Linked DNA regions of Homo sapiens: region 2 is linked to region 1. Evidence: promoter capture Hi-C in 16 types of primary human blood cells and fetal thymus (Javierre and others, 2016). All regions are on one chromosome and are shown on one strand. Each heading gives the region's core, a stretch centred on a gene start or on the middle of the fragment in contact. The rest is flanking DNA. Distances are from core to core; before and after follow the strand shown. Region 1 holds the start of PKP2 (plakophilin 2). Region 2 has its middle 5.5 kb from the start of YARS2.

Region 1 (4,207 bases), core at 1,006-3,505:
AGCCTTGAGGAACTGTGAGTCAATTAAACCTCTTTATAAATTACCCAGTCTCATGTAGTTCTTCACAGCAGCGTACAAACAGACTAATACAACTATGTAGTAGATACTTTTATTGCTCCCATTTATAGATAAGAGAATGTACAGAGTTATAAAAATCTAAAAAAACTTGCTTGTGGCCATATACTTACAAGGGGTAAGCTAAGGTTAAAACCTAGATTTTCCTCACTCACAAGCTGTGCTTTTAATCACCTTCCCTCCCCTCAAATCACCTAACAATCCAACAACAAGATTTCTATGTGCCCAATTATTGGTACCTACCCAACAGGATAATCAATTCCAACAACACACTTTAAAAAAATTAATTTGAGAGGAAAAAAGTATCTGAGGTTTGGCTCATTAAAATAAATGAGAAAAATTCCTCTCTAGTCTCCTGGTGAGGAATCTAATTGGAGGCAGAGCTGACATTTTAAGTCATGGCTCTTCAGGTACAAAATAACAAGGAATGCCCCAACTGACCCTGTATGGACAGATACTGAAATTGTCTCTCAAAGCAGCAGATTCTGGTCTGCCAGAAGAGGCCATGAAAAGAGAGAGAGAGAGAGAGAGAGAGAAACAGGAATGTTGCTGGACGTTTCTATCATCACTTACCTTCAGTTCACCCCTCTCTTTTCAATTACATCTCAGCATCATGGTTGGATGTTTCCACCTGGCTACATAAGCAAGCTTTACACAAGGTGTAATTTGCCTAAATAGTGGTCCATTCTATTGGGGTGGGAGCAATTGCTTCCAGGACTCACATCCATATGGCTCCCACTTAGCCATGTGGCCTGCTGACAAAGGGTGGCGGAACTGTCACTACTCTGTTGTCCACGCTTTCAGTCCTTTGGTTTCCTCTTCACTCCCTGGACGCTCATGTAAAAAGGGAGGCCATATACCTGTGCATTGTGTGTCTAAGCATTCAGTGTGTGTCTAAAGGCAGAAGGGTGTGGGTAGGAAAACAAAGACGAGGGAAGCTGCGTTCTCCAAACACTTCAGACTTGAGTAAGTGGGGTTTTGCAGCAATTGAGTGATTTGAGGGAAAGTGAACATACAAACCCAAGCAATCAAAGGGAATATTATCTTAATACCAGGGATACATGTTTTTCTTTCTGCCTCTTAAGTCCAAAGAGGCAAATCAGGACAAGTGGCTTTGGTTGTAAACTTTAAGGTCAAGGATCCTTTCTGTTGAGCTTAGCTCTCAAGTTCTCAGTAGTCAACTGCGGTGAAACATAATTAATAGCACGATAAATACAAGTTGTGGAAGATTCGATTGAAAGTTGGAGGCCCTCTCCGTGGATCTCTCTACAAAGAGCCTGTAATAAAGAGGACTTAATCAACGTTAGCAGGGCTATTTAAAAAGCATCGTCTATTAAAATTCATTTCTTCTCTAGAGCCTCTTGTTGGAGTTTCTCTGTGTGGGTGTGTTCGTAAGAGAGGAATGGGTTAGCAAGAGTACTGGGTACAATTTGTGTATCCAAGAGAAAACAGAAGCTCTCAATGAGGAAGAACATATGTTTCTGGGACTGCATCTGTGCAAAAAGTACATAGTCCTGACGTTGTACTAAGAAAAAAAACACTCTCTTTAGAAAGTCTTTTATTTCACACGTTATCTTCTTGGCACATTTCCCTCATATTGCCCTTTCCGCCTGACCAAATAGCCCTTTCTCACCCTCAGGTCCAGGAAAACCAGGAAACGTTTCCAACAGTGCGACAAAGCCTGACTAACCAGACATACTACTCGCTCGGGGATCCCGGAGGCAAGCCTCAGTCCAAGAACAGGAGTGACTCTCGAGGGCTCACCTGCCTGCAGGGCAGCCCCTCCCTGCATCGAGCGGAAATCCATCCTGTCCAGCGCGGGGCGTGGGCAGAGCGGGGCGCGGCCCCGGCAGGCGGTATCCGCTGGGACTCCGACAACGTGCGCGACCCCAGGCGAACCGCGCCCCTCTCCCCACCTCCCCGCGGGCGGGTACAAGTCTCCAGGTGTCCGCGCGCTCAGCGGGTCCGGCCCGCCCCCGCCCCCGCCCCCGGGCCCGACTGCGCGTGCCCGGCCGGAGCCGCGCCCCCTCCTCAGGGAAGGCCGGGCGTCCGGCCCACGAGGCCGAGCTCCCCCCCGGCCCGGGCCTCTCACCGGCGCGGGGGGCGGGCCAGGGGCGGGGCCGGACTCGAGCGGGGCGGGGCTCGCGCCAGCGCCCCCAGCTCCGTGGCGGCTTCGCCCGCGAGTCCAGAGGCAGGCGAGCAGCTCGGTCGCCCCCACCGGCCCCATGGCAGCCCCCGGCGCCCCAGCTGAGTACGGCTACATCCGGACCGTCCTGGGCCAGCAGATCCTGGGACAACTGGACAGCTCCAGCCTGGCGCTGCCCTCCGAGGCCAAGCTGAAGCTGGCGGGGAGCAGCGGCCGCGGCGGCCAGACAGTCAAGAGCCTGCGGATCCAGGAGCAGGTGCAGCAGACCCTCGCCCGGAAGGGCCGCAGCTCCGTGGGCAACGGTGAGTGGAGCCCGCCGCTCCCCGGCGCCGCCCCCTGCCCCACACCCGGTCACCTCCTCCTATCCCGCCCTCACCCCGCGTGCTGGGAGTGCGGGACCCCGTGTTCTGCCCACCTGTTGCTCGCCGTCTTCGGTATGACCGACTTGCTTGTGGAAAGCACTCTTTTCCATAACCTATTACTCAGCTTTGTCATATAGGTACCTATGTATATTAAATATTGTACATATCTATCAATGTTAACTAACTCACTTCAAGATTTCACCCCTTTCTTTTTCTACTCCGCCGGTCCGCGCCCCTCACTGGTGCGGACTTAATTTGAAGGTTCAGGGAGTCTATAAACACCTTGAGATGCTATGCAGAATTTTTGGTGTGTACGATCTTTTTCTGGGAGAAGGAGCCCTTCAATTTTATTAGATTTGTTAAATAATTAATGACCCCCATAAATATCTTGGGGAAAAAAACCGACAGCACTGGCGCTCCTACAACCTATAAATTGGGATTGTGCTGTCTTATGCAAGTACTTCGGGGCGCTCCACCCTGTGTGGGAGGCGAGTGGTGGATCTAGGGAGTGAAGAAAAGTAGTTAGGAGGCTTTGGTCCAGGGAACAAACACGCCGAGGAGGAGGTAGGGGACTTTGGCCCTGCCGGCAACAGCCGTGCCCGCCTAGCTGCGCTTCCTACCCCCACCAGTGCGGGCGTGATGCAAGTCTGATCCCTCCAAAAAATTAAACCCGAAGGTGAAAGGGGTGTAAGCACACACATGCACACTATGTTCATGATTGATAGACGGGGGAGGTGGAAGGGAAAGAAGATGGCAAGCCACTTGTGAAAATTAGAGATCATGATGTATCCTTTTCTCCCCTGCTGAAGTCAGGTGATGGGATCAACTCAGTGACCCTTGTTTTACTTCTTGTTGCTGTGTATGTGAGTTTGCATTATAAAAGCACTATGTTGGCTTATAGCAAAAAGAAGAGGAAAGAAATTGAGCAATTAAGTTGGAATATCTGTTTCCTGCAACGTTCAGTTGTTTCTGTATGAAGTAACTTGGGCATTGGCGAATGTAGGCTAACCCATTCTAGTTTCTATTAGGAAAACAGAAAAATTCTAACAGGCCAGACCAGAGATTTCAAACAGCAGAGTCTGGGAGGCTGTACTGTGTGTGTAAAAGAATCCTAAAGGATGACGTAGTCAATATTAACATACTTGAAAGGTAAAGAGAAGATGTTCAATGATCGTAGTTAATATAACTGAGTGCATACTATGTGCCAAGAATTGGGCGATGTGGTTTGCATTCATTTGAGATATATATATATATATGTATTTAAAAACTTGTGAGTTAGGTATTTTCATCCTCATTTTACAGATGAGGAAACTAAGCAGTTAAGTAACACTGAAGCTCTAATAGATGGTAAGTGGCAGAGCTGGTATTTAAACTCCCAAACCTGAATTTTAAACTTATCAGTTTTATCATTAAGTTTTAAAATGATTAATACAAAGTGGGATTTGTTAGATGCTAAGCCTCTCCGTGGCCCCCTCCCATTTTTCTTTAAATAAAATTGAGGAAGTTCTGAAAGGCTGGGGAGGTCTAGAAAACACAGAACTGCTGCAATACATGGAGGGAAAGACCTTATATTTATTTAGACTTAGGGGTCTGACTAAAGACTGCGGGATGAGTGAGGCCAGTC
Region 2 (4,547 bases), core at 604-3,103, 130 kb after region 1:
AGGCATGATCTCTGCTCACTGCAACGTCCACCTCCCAGGTTCAAGGGATTCTCCTGCCTCAGCCTCTCAAGTAGCTGAGATTATGGGCGCCCATCACCATGCCCGGCTAATTATTTTTTGTATTTTAGTAGAGATAGGGTTTCACCATGTTGGCCAGGCTGGTCTCAAACTCCTGACCTCAAGTGATCCGCCATCTTGGCCTCCCAAAGTGCTGGGATTGCAGGCATGGGCCACTGTGCCTGGCCGATGAATACATTTTTAACCTCCTCCCTGGTGTGGTGGCTTAAATAATGAAGTTAAAGCTGAGAAACAATAAATGGGACTTTTGACTACTGTGATAGCAAACAGGCATTTCAGAATTGTAGAGGTGAATGAGATTTTAGAATTCATCTAATCCAGCCCATTTACTTTTTTTTTTCTTTTCTTTTCTTTTTTTTCTGAAATGGAGTCTTGCTCTGTCGCTCAGGCTGGAGTGCAGTGGCGAGATCTCAGCTTGCTGCAATCTCTGCCTCCCAGGTTCAAGTGATTCTCCTGCCTCAGCCTCCCAAGTAGCTGGGACTACAGGTGCCGGCCACCATGCCTGGCTAATTTTTTGTATTGTTAGTAGAGACAGGGTTTCACCGTGTTAGCCAGGATGGTCTCGATCTCCTGACCACGTCGTGATTTGCCTGCCTCGGCCTCCCAAAATGCTGGGATTACAGGCATGAGCCACCGCGCCAAGCCCAGCCCATTTACTTCTAAAATGAGGACACCAAGGCTAGTGTGTTAAATGACTTATCTAAGGAGGAACAGGTAGTCAAGGTTAAGCTGAGATAGCTACTCATGTCTGTGACTCCTAGTCCCATGGTCTTTGGACCACGACTCAGAAGCACATTTTGTTATGGTTGTGAGGATGAAGGAAGTAATATTTGACTTTTCTGCAAACATTATGTAAATACAAGGTATTTGTTCCCCTTATGATGTTACAGAACATTAATGAGTGAGATGTTTCCAGACTTATTTCTCATTTTGGTAACTAACCAGTCAGTGCTTATAACAGAAAAACATAAAGTCCGTATTGAAGACACTGAGAAAAAAAGACAAAAATAGTTTTAATCAAAATAGAATTGCTCTACAAAACATAGAATGATTGCTTATTGTTTTGTTTCTTCTCCAATGGAGATATAAATTCACTTGGCCTTGATGGAGGGACAATGATGAGTTGATTGATTCACTTCTACTCTGTCAGAGAGACCAGAAAATTACTAAGGTAACTTGATAAATAGGAAAATTCCAAAATGATCTTCACTGAAGACATTATCCATTTGATCTAAGCTTTTCAGATGCAATCACAATAGTGTCTCCAAGATCCTCTTTCTAAGAGGGAAGCCTGCTTTTCTCATCACATTAGCAAACAGCCAGGCGGATTCGTTGCTTGCCAGTCATGGCTGAATTACAGTCCCGACAACATGGCCTGGGAAAGAACATGCTGGTAGGGGACTGCGGCGGCTATCACCAAGCTCAGAGCAGAAGGGGTGGATGTTGGGGAAAGGGTTCTGCGAGGAGAAAAATTCACTGCAGCAGGAGTGAAGGGAGACACAATTACATATTGAAAGGGGAAAAGCTGTTTGAATTCTACTCTACACCTCAATCACCACCCTCCTACAAGGGATGTCTTTCCCTTGGTCATATTCTCAACAAATGTTTCTCTCCCACAGCCCCCTCCTAATCTGCATGTTCTTCAACAGCTACCTAGGAGTCACTCTCTCTCTGCTCCAAAAATTGGGCGTGGAAAAGGAGCCCAATCAGAAAGAGGAAATGAAGAAAGAGGAAGTGAAGAATAAAACTGCTCAGAGAAAAATAACTTCATAGAATAATATTATCTCCATGAGGACAGGAATCTTTCTTTCATCCATGAATATATCCTAAGCCATTAGAACAGTGCCTGACTGATCAAATAATTCTAATAAATATCTGTTAAATGAATAAGCAAACATCTATGTCCTTAACCCACTAGAATGGTAGGAAATTGTTTCTCCATCATTATTAGCCTCCTTCCCGCTTCTAGGGTTTTACCAAAATTTGATCAACGTGCCCCAGGAAATAATATCTCTAATTTCCAATTGGTTCTGATCATTCTAGCCATCCTTGTTGGCCAAGCCTTCAGTGGTTCTCTGAGACCTCCAGCTGGCACTCAGGGGCTCTCCTGCCTCAAATGAAGCAGAGGAACCTTAGGCAAAGCCAGGAGCCCCAGGCTGGAAGTGTAGCAGGAGGTCGTCCCTTTGAGGCCAGGGAGCAATGCACAGCTCCTCTGGCAAACCAGGGCCATAGCCAGGGCTCCCTTGCCCAGGTTTGGGGCAGGGGCACTCTCTTTAAGCTGGAGAATCCTACCTCTTTCTCTTCTCTAAGCTTATTTCCTTAAACTTCATCCTATCTTAGGCTTTTGACTTTTGGAAACAAAAGTTACAAAGAGTTCCAGGATGACTCTGTATTCCTCCCCGACTTGTACTTTCCCCAAGGCACTGACACACAGAACTTGCTACAAATGGACAGTTAAAATGAAGAGAGGAAAATGAAAGATTTTTTATTTCTTTGTTTTTTTGAGACGGAGTCTCACTCTGTCACCCAGGCTGGAGTGCAATGGCGTGGTCTCAGCTCACTGCAACCTCTGCCTTCCGGGTTCAAGCGACTCTCCCGCCTCAGCCTCCTGAGTAGATGGGACTACAGGCGTGTGCCACCACACCTGGCTAATTTTTGTATTTTTGGAAGAGACGGGTTTTCACTATGTTGGCCAGGCTGGTCTCGAACTCCTGACCTCGTGATCTGCCCACCTCGGCCTCCCAAAGTGCTGGGATTACAGGCGTGAGCCACCGCACCCGGCCTGGAAAATGAAAGATTTTTAAACCCATAAATATCTCAAAACATTATCCAGCCATATGGTATGGGACCAGGTGCATAAAGTTAAGGCAATGCTGAGACCTCCAGGTTATTCCACTGGCTACAACAGCAGCCTAAAAGAAAGAAAGAAAGAAACTTGGGGTATCCTTCTCTAAACTCTAATATAGAAAGGAAATGCATATCTAGTAACATGTTTCTTTGTCTAATTATCCTCCTACAATCAGCATCTTAAAATAAGCTAATCTCTTATAAAAAATTTTTGGATGTTAATATGACCATCAGCTCAAAAAGCATTAAAGCCACTTCAATCAAGGGACACAGACTAGGTTTCAAGACACTTAGCTCACATAAATTTCTATAAATTTTAATAGAACTTAATGGTCTTTCCATTTTTTTGTGTGGGAAGGGTAAGCATTATTGATTTTACATTTTAATACATTTTAGGGGCATGATGAACCTGGACAGTAAAAGCATCCTTCCTTCGCCCTACCTAATGCAGAGGAGCTTCCTGAAAGAAATTAGTTTGGAATGAAAGGGGAGCAACTGCCTTGCAGGTAAGGATGGGCAGAGTGGGAGGATCTTTAGGACTTTAGATGTAGGTTTCAAGAAAAACAGCAACATGAAAGTCATGTGTGAGAAGATGTAATTATGAGGCAGATTGAGTTATAAATTATTATACAAAGACAACAAAGACATGAAATCAATCTTTAGAAATGATTCTTCCCAAGTAATAGGAGATAGGAATGTCATGGAAATACTTCAACTGGAAGAAAAGCCATGGAAATACTTCAACTGGAAGAAAAGCCATGGCCTTTCTGCAATAACCTACAATTTCTTTTTCTTTTCTTTCTTTTTTTTTTTTTTGAGATGTTGTCTCACTCTGTTGCCCAGGCTGGAGTGCAGTGGTGCTATGTCGGCTCACTGCAACCTCCGCCTCCCAGGTTTAAGTGATTCTCCTGCCTCAGCCTCCTGAGTAGCTGGGATTACAGACGCCCGCCACCACGTCTGGCTAATTTTTGTATTTTTGGTTGAGACGGGAGTTTCACCATGTTTGTCAGGCTGGTCTCAAACTCCTGACCTCAGGTGATCTGCCCGCCTCAGCCTCCCAAAGTGCTGGGATTACAAGCGTGAGCCACCATGCCCGGCCGTAACCGGGCATGGTTACGTAGGTTTACAATTATAGGTTTACAATTTCTATTTCTTGTTCCTATCCACTCCCTTTTGCATCTGATGTCACCAATAATCTTCTCCAAGGAAAAAAAAACAGAAAACACAAATAAGAATTATATTTTATAGTGATTATAATGATCAGAATTCCTCAGACTTCTTTCTGCTGTCATTTTGCTGTGATGTTCGAGCAGCTCATATTTCAGCCCTAATCAGATCTCTGCTGTAATCTGAATATATATTTAATACAATGCTAGAGATAGAGAAATTTTCAAAGTTAAGTAGAGATCAGTTAAAATACCATTACTGTTTACTCTGTGTCTTTTGAATTCTATTATATTTATATTTGTTTACATTTTGAAAACCAAGCCATTTAAAACAGGGATCCCTTCAAAGAGAACATTTATGTGGCATTTTGTTGCAGGAAAAGGTAACTGTAAAACACATGTGCCTCTAATTCAAGGCCAGTTAACCTCAAGTTATTACAGTTGAGATAAATCATA

The links. Contacts are between HindIII fragments. The CHiCAGO score rates a contact against its expected background, and 5 or more counts as called.
Region 2: a contact is called between a fragment that was not itself captured here and the fragment with the promoter of PKP2 in region 1, in 2 of 17 cell types (megakaryocytes and M0 macrophages). The highest score is 5.5, in megakaryocytes.

What each region holds. Positions count from the first base shown.
Region 1 is chr12:32,894,825-32,899,031 of GRCh38, reverse strand. PKP2 (plakophilin 2) reads left to right here and starts at 2,255. Exons shown (of 13, transcript NM_001005242.3): 1 at 2,255-2,523. The coding sequence starts at 2,301. RefSeq lists silencers at 1,847-1,946, 2,147-2,256. The HindIII fragment of the contact is 4,432 bases long and covers 726-4,207 here.
Region 2 is chr12:32,759,141-32,763,687 of GRCh38, reverse strand. No RefSeq gene overlaps it. Among named protein-coding and RNA genes, the nearest start is that of YARS2, 5.5 kb to the right of the region's middle. The HindIII fragment of the contact is 1,074 bases long and covers 1,317-2,390 here.